Linked DNA regions of Homo sapiens: regions 1 and 3 are each linked to region 2. The links are contacts of gene promoters, found by promoter capture Hi-C in human tissues and cell types (Jung and others, 2019). All regions are on one chromosome and are shown on one strand. Each heading gives the region's core, a stretch centred on a gene start or on the middle of the fragment in contact. The rest is flanking DNA. Distances are from core to core; before and after follow the strand shown.

Region 1 (4,420 bases), core at 1,129-3,628, 86 kb before region 2:
GCGTGGTGGCTCACGCCTGTCATCCCAGCACTTTGGGAGGCCGAGGCGGGCGGATCACGAGGTCAGGAGATGGAGACCACTCTGGCTAACACAGTGAAACCCCGTCTCTACTAAAAATACAAAAAATTAGCCTGGCATGGTGGCAGGAGCCTGTAGTCCCATCTATTCGTAGTCCCAGCTACTCAGAAGGCTGAGGCAGGACAATGGTGTGAACCCAGGAGGCAGAGCTTGCAGTGAGCCGAGATCGCACCACTGCACTCCAGCCTGGGCAACAGAGTCAGACTCCATCTCAAAAAAAAATAAAATAAAATAAAGTAATATATGTGTGTATTAAAAAAAAGAAAGAGGCCAGGTACGGTGGCTTATGCCTGTAATCCCAGCACTTTGGGAGGCCGAGTTGGGCAGATCACGAGGTCAAGAGATCGAGACTATCCTGGCCAACATGGTGAAACCCTGTTTCTACTAAAAATACAAAAATTAGTCGGGTGTGGTGGTGTGCGCCAGTTGTCCCAGATACTCAGGAGGCTGAGGCAGGATAATTGCTTGAACCCAGGAGGCAGAGGTTGCAGTGAGCTGAAATTGCACCACTGCTTTCTAGCCTGGGTGACAGAACAAGACCCCATCTCAAAGAAAAAAAAAATAGAAAAGAAAGAAAGAGATCTGGAAGGATACACCAAACTGTTCATAGTGGTTAAACCTGAAAAAGGGAATAGGATGACTGACTTGAATGAACTTGTCATTTTATAGGTTAAAAAAAGGTCAAATTGTGACAATTTCATATGGTACAATATAAAATTATATTAAATATACTCGAGATTTAATGAATTATTACAATGAGAATATATTCATGTATTACTTATGAACAAAATAAACAAAACACAGTTAAGAAGCAGCCCCCAGCATGCCTAAAATCTAGAGACATTTGAAGAAGGAGAAATAAGTCAAGTCCCCACTGATGCTAACTGCACTGGGCCTGAGCACATGGGCTGGACACAACAAGTTTAGGGGCCTGGCTCTCCCCTTCAGTTGCCTGCTAGACCTTGGCCCAGCTGCTTTACTTCTCGGGCTTTAACTGGGCACCTTACTCATGACCGCACTAATTCTCATAACACTACAGCTGGGAGCTGTCATCCATGTATTACAGATGAGGAAGGGTCTGGATTAGCTACCTTTTAAGTCAGATCTAATAATCCACAAACAGCTCAGCTGAGATCCTGGGATTCTGGGGCATCCGCGTGCACTTGAGATACAAGCTGTCCCACTGGCCCATGGCAACCTTCTTTCTAGTGAAACTCCCAGGGCGAGCGTGCTCCGCACACAGGAAGTGAAGGGGGAGCACCTGGCTTCCAATGATCACTCTGCGGCTCACCCACAGTGGGACCCCAGCATTTATCCCCCTTGGACTTCGGCTTCTTTCTTTGCACTGAGGAATAATAATAGTACCTGGCTCACAAGATGTTATAGTGTTTTAGTGTTTATAGGAAGCTGTGCACTTGATCCTCACAACGACCCTGGGAAGAGGATCGAGTAAGTAGAGCCTTCCCAGTCCACAGATACTGATACTAATCACTAATCATTGTGTAAAGGTTTTCCGTTTGCAACAGGCCATAAAATATATTATCTTACTTTAATTCTAAGAAAACAAGGGCGGAATCTCTGGTTTTCATCGGATTCTCAAAGATATACGTGTCCCCCAAGGAGTTCAGAGGTAGCCATGTTACGCAGATGCACGGCCCCCAGGGCTGTCGGACTCAAGTAACAGCTGTCAACAAACGTTCACACGCACGATCTCATGCAATCATCTTCACGGCGACCTACGGGGAGGAATTACCGCCCCAATTCACAACCGCGGAGACACACAGAGGAGGGCGGCCACCGCCCGGGGTCGCCCGGCCTCCGTCCCCTTCCCCAGGCCCTCCTGAAGCCTCTCTCCAGGCGAGGCCCGGACGTCCTACTCAGCTCGGGCCCCCGAGTGAACCCAGGCAGCGCTGGCCGGCGACGCCGGACTCGGAGACGTACCTGACGCGTCCCAGAAGCCGGGGTCCAAGCGCTCCCCGAACCCCCAGCAAGGACTCTGTAGCCCAGAGTTACCTTGACCCACCCGCCTCCTGCCGCCTGCCCGCCACGCGCATGCGCTGCCCCGCCCGGCCTCTACCACCGAGGAAAGGGGTAACCGGCGCGGGGGTTCCCAGCGCCAGCCTGCGCCAATCCCCAGAAACTCCGTGAATCACCTCGGGATAGCAAACGGATTATACAAAGGCAGTGTCTTCTGGGGTCCTTTTCATGCCTCTAGGACCAGGACCTGCATTCACCCTCTCCACTGACACATTGGTCTGGGCCCCCGGCCCGGCTGTCACCATAGAAACGGCATCTCGCGGACAACGCGGCGGCTCACGAAGGTTCCATTGTTATGCTAAACGGGAAAGTGGAGACCGCGCCGGCGTTGCCTAGAGAACGCCTGGACTCAGAGTAGCAAAATGGGCCTCTCCCCAACTCCCCTCCTCATCCCCCAGCACAAGGCAAAGGGCACCCCTTGCTGTGAGTTTGGGGGCACCGGCTGTCGGGGGCCGACCCAGAACTTTGCGGGGTCCCCTGAGGGACCCGTGGCGGGACCGGCCCCGGGTTCGTCAAATTCCGCCGATGCTTTCAGGTAAGACGGACGGACAGACGCACCATGACCCACCTCTGGCAGCCTGCCCCCTCCCCGTGCCGTTATGGCGGCTTCTACAAGCAAGGGAAGCTGAGGCCCAGGGACTACTTAAAGGTTGCATTGTGAGGAAGGGACAGAGAACTACTGGAGAATCAACTCCAGATCTCCTAGAGTCCTAAAAGCGTGTGTTATTGGTTCCGTCTGATAAGTGCAGAAACTTAGGCCGTTCAAGGAGTTTACCGGCTGCCTAGTGGGTGTATCAGGGCATCCAGTGAGGGGCAGGACCCAGGGGTCTTTGACTCCAAGCGCAGTTCTCTTCCAACTACACCACCCTGCATTAAAAGAGGGGAGACTTCCATGTCCTAGAACTAAAATCTTCACAATCTGGCTTAGCATTGTGCAATAGAAACATAAAGCAGGCCACATATGTGATTTGGAATTTTCTAGTAGCCACATTTTTTAAAAAGTAAAAAAGAAAGCCAAGTGAAATTAATTTGAGTAATGTTTTAAACTCCATATGTCCAAAACATTACTATTTCAAGATATAATCAGTATTTCTAAATTTGCACTGCTTCCATTTAAAAATTTAATTTTTTTTTTTTTTAAGACAGAGTCTCACTCTGTTGCCCAGGCTGGGATTGCAGTGGCATGATCTCGGCCTCCCGGGTTCAAGCGATTCTGCTGTGTTCACCTCCCAAGTAGCTGGAATTACAGGCACCCACCACCATGCCCGGCTAATTTTTTGTATTTTTAGTAGAGATGGCGTTTCACCATGTTGGCCAGGCTGGTCTCGAACTCCTGACCTCAGGTGATCTGCTTGACTCGGCCTCCCAAAGTGCTGGTATTACAGGTGCGGGCCACTGCGCCTGGCCAAAATTTGAATTAATTAAAATTAAAATTTTACTCTTGGCTGTTCTATCTATGGAGTAGCCATTCTTTTATTGCTTTACTTTAAAAAAATTTTACTTTTTTTTTTTTTCGAGACAGAGTCTCGCTCTGTCGCCCAGGCTGGAGTGCAGTGGCATGATCTTGGCTCACTGCAACCTCCGACTCCTGGGTTCACGCCATTCTCCTGCCTCCGCCTCCCAAGTAGCTGGGACTACAGGCGCCCGCCACCATGCCAGGCTAATTTTTTTTTTGGTATTTATTTATTTATTTATTTATTTATTTTAGATGGAGTCTCGCACTGTCGCCTAGGCTGGAGTGTGCAGTGGTACAATCTCAGCTCACTGCAAGCTCCGCCTCCTGGGTTCATGCCATTGTCCTGCCTCAGCCTCTCGAATAGCTGGGATTACAGGCGCCCGCCACCAAGCCCAGCTAATTTTTTTTTTTTTTTTTTTTTTTGGTATTTTTAGTAGAGATGGGGTTTCACCATGTTAGCCAGGGTGGTCTCGATCTCCTGACCTCATGATCCGCCTGCCTCGGCCTCCCAAAGTGCTGGGATTACAGGCGTGAGCCACCGCGCCCAGCCTTTTGTTTATTTTTTTGAGACAGGGTCTCATTCTGTCACCCAGGCTGGAGTGCAGTGACATCATCCCCACCTCCCAAAGTATTGGGATTACAGGTATGAGCCACTGCATTCAGCCTTAAAATTTTACTTATTCAGTCACATTAACCAAATTCCAAGGACTTAATTGTCACATGTAGCTAGTGCTATTTTGATGGCCAGCACAGTCTGGGCACTTCCTACCTTTCCAGCCTCACTTCCCGCTGCTTGGATGGTACATTTTGGATGGCATATTATTTCCGCTCCCCATTTTTTCTTTTTTT
Region 2 (4,418 bases), core at 303-2,802:
TAGTGGAAAGTCTTCATGTGCACTTTTTAACTGTCCTAGAGTTTGTTGTTGTTTTAAATATCTTAAAAGTTGTCTCTAACCATCGATATGATACCCAGATAAGATTTTTCTCCTCCCTTCATGAATTTGTCATTACCCAGCTCATTTTAGTTTTTTTAAGTGTACTGCACACAACCTTCAAATATTATGAACATTTCTCTCTCCCAGCTGTCACTACACCAAACTACATATGTTATATTTCCCTAAATCATCTTGCTGTGCTCTTTGCAGCTCTTCTGTAGACTGTTGATGTCTTCACCTAACGAGTTGCTCAAAAGTTCCCATAATTATTTAGGTGAGGCCTCAGAGCGAAAGCCTTTCACCACTATCCAGTTCCTCCCCCAAATGGGCATTCATCTCCATATAACAAGGACGACTGTGTTTGGGGGAAAATAACAGATTTGGAAGCACAATGGCAGTTATTTGTTGGCTCTTAAAACAATCCACCTGTTGGGGGGGTGCGTCCTACACAAAATGCCAACTGCTATTGTGGGAATGTTTTGCTATTTATTCCACCAAAATGATTCAGACAGAAAAAACAAAAAGGATCGCCCTGTACTAGGTCTTGAACCCAAAGAACTGTTTGCACAGAGATTCATCCAAGATACATCACAGCCTCCACCTCGGCAGCTGCTCTCTCAAATGTTTCCTGACTCTCCCCAAGTCAGTCTCCGCGTGAGGGGAGGAGGAGGATGCTGCCAGCGATGGCGCTGCTGGCACGAAGGCTGGCCTGCGACTTCTATTTAAAAGCTGAACCAAAATATACTTGGCGTCTGTGGTCTATTTAAAACTTCAAGTTAAGACAGAGAAAAAATTACTCTCCATCCTGAATGGGCCTCGGGTGTCTCAATCACAGACAAGAGTGGCAAATGGTGAGAGTCAGAAAGTGGGAAATTAGGAACGCTGAGGGAGCACGGCCAAACTCTGAAGCCAGCATGAAAACCTGGAGGTGAAAAGAGAAGCCATGGGCAGCGGGGGCGGGGGGAAACGGGCCCGGATTCGACCTTCTAAGCCAAGGCTCCATCTGCAACCCTCGCGACCAAGACCTATCGCCAAAGTCAGCCACCTCTGCTCATCGCCCCTCCCCCGACTCAAGGCTACCTCCTCAGAACCCCGCCTCAGGGTCTTCTCCCGGACTTTAGCGAGGTGCTCAGCTCGAGGGACGCCCCAGCTCAACGGTCTCCCTTCAAGGCCCCGCTCCTCAGCGCGCTCCTTCCACAGCGCCCCTCCCTCCCTCCCTCCGTCATCCCAGCTCGCCACCCGCTGGGGCTCCTCTTCGTTTTCCGCGCCTCAGCCCTCGCCCCGCCCCCTCGCCCTGAGCCCCCTCCAGGCCACGCCCTCTGGTCCCCCCACCTGTGAGCCCGCTCGTTCCCCGCCCTTCGGTCTTCGCCCCGCCCCCATTGCTCCCCGCCCCTCGTCGCCCTCTGTAGGCCTGCTCCCTCCCCGCCCTTCCACCCTCACCCTGCGCCCCGCCCCGGCCCCTTGGTCCTCGCCCCGCCCTCCTCGTTTGGCGCCAAACCCTGTGGTCAACGGCGCGCGGGTCTCCAGGCTCCGTGTTCTAGGCCCGAGTTAGAATCCTGTCAGCTGAGGAGGTCGGGCGGGGCAGAGGGGCTTCACCTTGAAAATCTCGGGGAGACTGTGGGTACGAGGGGGGTAAGTGGCAAAAACGAACAGCGTGCGAAGACTCTGAGGGGACGCTCGTTTTGAGAAGGCGCGCTTCCCTTTCTCGCTCCTTTTTTGGGGTCCCTGGGCTAGTGACTTTGAGCGTTCCGCTCCGACCTTTGGGGAGGAATTTTAGTGATCTTGAGGGATTTCCAACCTCATTTTCAATCGAATCGGACCTGAGTCTAGGAGAGCCCGCCTCATCCTCCTGACCAGGGAATCCGGTGTCAGGAAAATGTCCGGCGGCCGCAGGGGGTCTGCCCAGGCCTCCTGCTGAGGGAGGCGTCGAGGGCGACCCGACCGCGCTGCTGCCCCCACCAGAGGGGACAGCTGGGTCGTCTTAAACCGGGGGATTGGGGAGCCCTACTTTCAATCCAACGGTTCAGTCTATCAACGGCTCCTTGAGAGATGGGGGACAATCTTTTCATTTCATCACGGGGAGAAGAAATGAATGCTGTTTTTCTCTTCGATGGGGACAGTAAATGTGGAATTGGGGTACTCATAGCTAGCCATCTGAAGGACAGTGTCCCCGAAGATCCCATCCGAACGGTCTCGGTTGCCTTCCATCCTTTGCCGTTTGAGGTGCTGGGTGGTAGGACCCTGCTCCTGCCTTAGTATTAATGGTTCGTTCCCTTTGTTCTAGGGTCCAACCCCTGACTTTGGTATCAAATGAGGAAATGGAATCGACCAAGAAAAATGATGATTTGGACCGCATTTTATTGTAATAAATAAACACAATCACGCCTTGTGGATTCCTGAGATTTCTTTTTGAGTCTACAATGTTAAAAACTTTAACTGCTTATCAGCCTTAATATAATATTATGATCCACCAATTTTTTTTTTTTTTTTTGAGACTGAGTCTCGCACTGTCGCCCAGGCTGGAGTGCAGTGGCATGATCTCGGCTCAGTGCAACCTCCGCCTCCCAGGTTCAAGCGATTCTCCTGCCTCAGCCTCCCAAGTAGGTGGGATTACGGGCGCCCACCACCACGCCCGGCTAATTTTTTTGTATTTTTAGTAGAGACGGGGATTGGCCAGGCTGGTCTCGAACTCCTGACCTCGTGATCTGCCTGTCTCGGCCTCCCAAAGTGCTGGGATTACAGGCATGAGCCTCCACACCCGGACCACCATATTTTTAAATCTTAAAAAAATCATGAAACTAGTAAATACTGTGAAAGAAAGTATAGCTAATGTTCTATGAAACAAAAAGGTGGATGTTACAGGAGTACCCATTCATAATCAGCAGGCAGGAAGGCATTCATCATAGATGAGAAAAATAGAATCCATTTATTGAGGACAAAGTTGGAGGTGTCAGGGAGGACACAAGGAAGAATGATATAATGTCAAGGTTCCTAGAGTATTGTTGTTAAACATAAACAAGAAAGGTTAAAAGCAATATGCAATTCTAAATAACATTCAAGGCAGTAATAAAGTCATGATTAGCTGTGCAATGGAAACCAGATGATAAGTGATCACTGTTGGGGAAAGAGAAGAAACTAAATAAGCACCCCCCAATTTGCCCCTCAGGCATCTGTGTGCATGTGGGGACACACACACACATGCACACACACACACACACACACAAGAAATAATGTCACATGTCTCGCAGAAAGAAGATAGGCTGGCCTCATCTTTCCAAGCTAAATGCTTCTCTTACTGTCCTTCTAGTCCTTGTTGACTTTGAAATGAAATCAGAGGCCCCTGGACAAAGGACTACTTCTTACATAATATTTCTTATTTTCCCAGAAGTGATTATTTTTCTGTTGCCCACTTTTCAATATGAAGGAGGATCAAGTTGTGGCGGAAGAACCAGGATTCCAAGATGAAGAGGTATGACTAAAATGTTGAAAGATATATAGACATTCGATCATTCCGCAAAAATCAAGTTCCTTCCCTGTTAGCTACTATTTTTAGAAGCTGAAAGTAGAAATAACACATAGTTATATATTGCAAATATGTAACAACTTGTTTGGCAAGGATGCTAAGATTAGCTACTTAGCAACTGGTATGAAAGTATTTTAATGACTTAACAGCTGGTATGGCCATACTGGTACCTACACACACGGGTACCGAATAGCAGCCTGGTCCTAGAGGAAGGAGTTTAGGATCTGGAGGGGAAGAGGGTTGAGAAAACATATTTAAAATAGTTCAAATGTTGTTCCAGTCCTTTGGGTAAAGGTTTTAAAATTTTAGGGAGGACATGACAAAGGTAACTGGCTTCCCAGCCCTTTCAATGTTGGTGCTTCTTCTGTGTTTGAAAAACGGTATTGATCCTTCCTCAATCTCTAGAGAAGCGGAATTTGAGGCATTTTGGAGTGACTCATAGTATTGAATTACCTCTTTAAAAGATGTGAAATAGCTGGATATGAAGAATCAAAACTTCATTTTTTCTGTTTCATCTCCTTTAGGAATCTTTGTTTCAAGATATTGACCTGTTACAGAAACATGGAATTGTAAGTAGTTTTTCAATGCTGTGTTAAATTGTCTGATTCAGGATTTCTCAGCATCAACCTTATGGACATTTGGGCCTGGATAATTCTTTGTTGCAAGGGGACGTCCTGTGCATTGTAGGGTGTTTGCAACATCCTTGGCCTCTACTCACTCACTGCATGTCAGTAGCACCCCTGCAGCTGTGACAATCAAAATGTCTCCAGACATTGTCAAGTGTATCCAGAGGACAAAATTAAGTTCTATATGTCAGGCGACTGGAATAAATGAT
Region 3 (3,911 bases), core at 58-2,557, 77 kb after region 2:
AAAAATTTTAAAAGCGTAATGTGCAAAGAAAGTACTGTAGCCTTGGGAGTTGATATTGCAGACATAATCGTCCACATAATAACTTTCTGTGTGATGACTGCATTGTTGGTCATGTTTTCAGGTTGATCCAACTAATGGAAGAAATAATGGCTGAAAAGGAAAACAAAACAATAATATTTGTGGAGACAAAGAGACGCTGTGATGATCTGACTCGAAGGATGCGCAGAGATGGGTGAGTATAGCACCAAGGCAATTAACCTCTGGTTTTATAGTTAACTGGAAATTTCTAAATTGGTATTCCAAATGTTGTGTAATATTTCAATAATGCCTATCCATGCAGTTTGCTCTTTTAATGAGCACAGTCATCTATTCATGAAGCCTGACAAACCTTACAAAAATTGCATGATAGCATTTGGCTTTAAAGTTCGATTTTCTCCACTTTAAAAGATTTTTAAAATATTGGTCACTTTTCTTCTGATAGTTGGCCAGCTATGTGTATCCATGGAGACAAGAGTCAACCAGAAAGAGATTGGGTACTTAATGGTAAGTTTAAAACTAAGCATTTTCTGTTGATTCCCCACCCCCTGCCCATAAGTGAATGTTCATGCTCTATTTCAGGGATAGGCAAACTTTCTGTAAAGGGCCACATAGTAAGTATGCTTGGCTTTGTAAACCAAATGGTGGTCTCTGTTATAGCCACTCAGCACTGCTGTTTTAGGACAAAAGCTGTAGGCTGTAGATAATATGTAAAGAAGTGGCCTGGACTGGGCACCGTTGGTGGCTCATGCCTATAATCCTAACACTTTGGGAGGCTGAGGCGCGTGGATCACCTAGGCCCAGGAGTTCAAGACCGGTCTGGGCAACATAGTGAAATCCTGTCTCTAAAAGAAAAACAAAACAAAACAAAACTTAGCCAAGCTTGGTGGTGCACGCCTGTAACCCCAGCGACTCCGGAGATTGAGGTGGGAGGATTGCTTGAGTCTAGGAGACAGGTTGGAGTGAGCCAAGATCGTGCCACTCCAGCCTGGGTGACAGGGTGGGACCCTGTCTCAAAGAGATAAACGTGGCTATGTTCAGACAATATTTATTTGCAAAAATAGGCGTTGTGCCAGATTTGGCCCAAAGGCCAGTTTGTCTTACCCCTGTTGTATAGTTGATTGAATTACTGAGGGTACTTTTAGCGTGTGCTCATGGTTCTTTAAGGGCCACGATGCTGGCTCTTTAAACTTTTTCACAACTTTCACCACCCTCCCTTTATTAATAAAGTCTTCAATTTTTTCCTTCTGATTATAAAAATATAACTACCGTTTGGGGAGAATTAAACTGTTACTGAAATATTTAAAGAAAAATGTTTCTTAATGAGTCATATTTTAGCATATTTCCTTTCAGTCCTTTTTTTCAGGACTACTCTTAAGGGAAGCCATTGAGAAATGGAAGAGGCCATATTTTGTTTAAGAAATAAAATGTGGCCGGACACAGTGGCTCACGCCTGTAATCCCAGCACTTTGGGAGGCTGAGGTGGGCGGATCACCTGAGGTTGGGAGTTCGAGACCAGCCTGACCAACATGGAGAAACCCCGTCTCTACTAAAAATACAAAATTAGCCGGGCATGGTGGCATATGCCTGTAATCCCAGCTATTTGGGAGACTGAGGCAGGAGAATCGCTTGAACCCGGGAGGTGGAGGTTGCGGTGAGCTGAGATTGCGCCACTGCACTCCAGCCTCGGCAATAAGAGCGAAACTCCATCTCAAAAAAAAGAAAGAAAAATAAATAATATGCATACCTTTTGGGGGGAAATTCAGTTCTTTTCATTCTACATCTTTTGAACTTGTTTCCTACTGACCCCCAACTTTTGGTTGTGTCTCATTTGGGAAATAACTTTAAGGGGAAAAAAATCTAGCTCATATTAATTATGTAACAAATTGCCACACTCTCTTAACGGTATTTCATTATTAGTAGAGGTAACTATTGTGCTGCTGAATATGAGTGTAATAAAGATTTTCAAAAGAATCACTGTCAGTCATTACAAGAGCTTGGGATTTTCTGGCACCATTATTTGAAATTTTAACATGGTTATGTAAACAGATCAGATAGCAAGGAATGCTTATTTGATGATGATTATTGTTTGTTTTTACAGAGTTCCGTTCTGGAAAGGCACCCATCCTTATTGCTACAGATGTAGCCTCCCGTGGGCTAGGTTTGTATAGATAGGTGTCTCTGTCAATGGTATATGTATCTTTTGGTTTAAAGATTCGTCATTTCAAATTCAGACTTCAAGTTTAGAAAGTTGTATATACATGTGGTTAGATAAATATTTGAAAGAAAAAAATACAAAGCGTGATTCTCCCCATTCCCTGCCCCCCCCACAATTTTTTTTAACTTTGGTTTCCCCCACCCCCCTTTTATTTTCAAAGTCTCTTCCTGCTCCTAACAAACAGGCTTTGGTCTGCAGCAAGGCCTAGGCATGACTATTCAAACAGAGGGAGAGGAGACAGACAGCTGAATGGCTCAGCTTCTCTCTGGTGGTGGTTTCTGGCTGGATAGAATAAGCCTGACGAAACCTAGCTATTGTAAGCTAGTTTCTTCAGTTATTCTTTTCCCTATCCCTGTCTAAGCTAGATATATACAGAGAGGTCCAGTTTTATGAATGCTTATTAGATGGAATTTTATAAGTCTAATGCAGTATCAGAATAGCAAATATGTGTATTGCCCAGTTTAATTTACTGAGGTCAAATTATCATGGGCACTTGGCTATCCCCTCCTACCCATGCACTTATCTGTAGGTGTGTTATCAACTGATGATTTTCTGGAGTTTTTGACCCATTACCATTTAAGATATACAGAGAATTTTATGGTAGTTTAGCCCACTATTCTGAGCTAAACAGGTCTAACTCAGAACTTCTATATTTTAAAAAAAAAGATTATTTGTATTACAAGGAAATCCTTAAATTATTGACAGGTATTTAATTTGCCCAGTAAGGTGAGAAGTACCATATTATTCCCTTATACTATATAATATAAAGAGAACAGGTATTCAAACTGGAATACAAAAGTAATGAAGCCTTTTTATGCATTGCACTCATCATTCCCTCCTTCAGAGGTGGTGACCTGCAGCCATGATGGAAAGTTCTCTCTGCCCCTCTGCCCTCTGAGGTCATGTCTGGATCTGTGCCATTAGAACTTGGGCCTGTTGGGAGAGGAGGCGGAGGCCTGAAAGCAGTTTACATAAAGCTTTCAGTAATGGTTGGTTTTTAAACAGGCTTGCTATGTGCTGGTAGCTTCTTTGTGCATCTTGCCTAGACAATTAAAAATATTTGCTCCATGTCCCCTTGCATTTCTAAACCAAATTAATTGGCTACCATTAGAATAACTTAGACTCTTCATCCCACCCCCACTCATCCAAGTGAGGGGAGAGGGAAGGTACCCGAGTCTGTTTCTTGTTACTCAACATCAGTGCTTGTTTTGGGCCCCTTTGTTTGCTGCCTTGTAAAAAATCAAAAGAGGGAGAAAACCCACCAAAATGGCAGAATTCTGACCAATGTCCTACAAGATCCTGGAAAGTGAAGGCTTCTACCTCATAGACAGGGGTGCAATTTTCAGCTGAGTCACCAGGGCCTTTTTTCACTTCCTGTCAAGCGATGGTCTCTTAAATGTTCCCTTCAGGTAAGTTCTTTGATTCCCATAATTTTATAATAGTCATCCTTAGGCTACCACTTCCCTTTCCACTGGGATATTTTTTATTTTTCCTTTTTTTTGTTTGAACTACACACTGTTAAACTAAAAGTATTGAATTTATTTTGTTTTGTTTTTTAACAGAAGCTTTGATATCAGCTGCAGATCACTCAATACATGGCCGAGACAAATCTACATTGGCCGGAAGCAGCTCTAGATGAGCCTCTTGGCTAGACTTA

What was found. The method cuts DNA at HindIII sites, captures the fragments that hold promoters and counts their contacts. A contact is called where the count stands out against the background at its distance.
Region 1: the fragment with the promoter of FAM227A here is called in contact with the fragment with the promoter of DMC1 in region 2 in 1 of the 25 tissues and cell types used here (IMR-90 fibroblasts).
Region 3: a contact is called between a fragment that was not itself captured here and the fragment with the promoter of DMC1 in region 2, in 2 of the 25 tissues and cell types used here (dorsolateral prefrontal cortex and mesenchymal stem cells).

The regions. Positions count from the first base shown.
Region 1 is chr22:38,654,350-38,658,769 of GRCh38, reverse strand. FAM227A (family with sequence similarity 227 member A) reads left to right here and starts at 2,378. Exons shown (of 17, transcript NM_001013647.2): 1 at 2,378-2,650. It overlaps CBY1 (chibby 1, beta catenin antagonist), which reads right to left and starts at 2,132. Exons shown (of 5, transcript NM_015373.4): 1 at 2,020-2,132. The HindIII fragment of the contact is 5,432 bases long and covers 1,445-4,420 here.
Region 2 is chr22:38,567,317-38,571,734 of GRCh38, reverse strand. DMC1 (DNA meiotic recombinase 1) reads left to right here and starts at 1,552. Exons shown (of 14, transcript NM_007068.4): 1 at 1,552-1,692; 2 at 3,446-3,529; 3 at 4,108-4,152. The coding sequence starts at 3,479. LOC105373031 (a long non-coding RNA gene) reads right to left here and starts at 1,235. Exons shown (of 2, transcript NR_134627.1): 1 at 1,141-1,235; 2 at 377-982. RefSeq lists enhancers at 817-866, 453-963 and a silencer at 1,267-1,556. The HindIII fragment of the contact is 22,042 bases long and covers 1-4,418 here.
Region 3 is chr22:38,490,342-38,494,252 of GRCh38, reverse strand. It overlaps DDX17 (DEAD-box helicase 17), which reads left to right. Exons shown (of 13, transcript NM_006386.5): 9 at 122-232; 10 at 482-543; 11 at 2,138-2,197. Among named protein-coding and RNA genes, the nearest start is that of DDX17, 14 kb to the left of the region's middle. The HindIII fragment of the contact is 4,436 bases long and covers 1-3,525 here.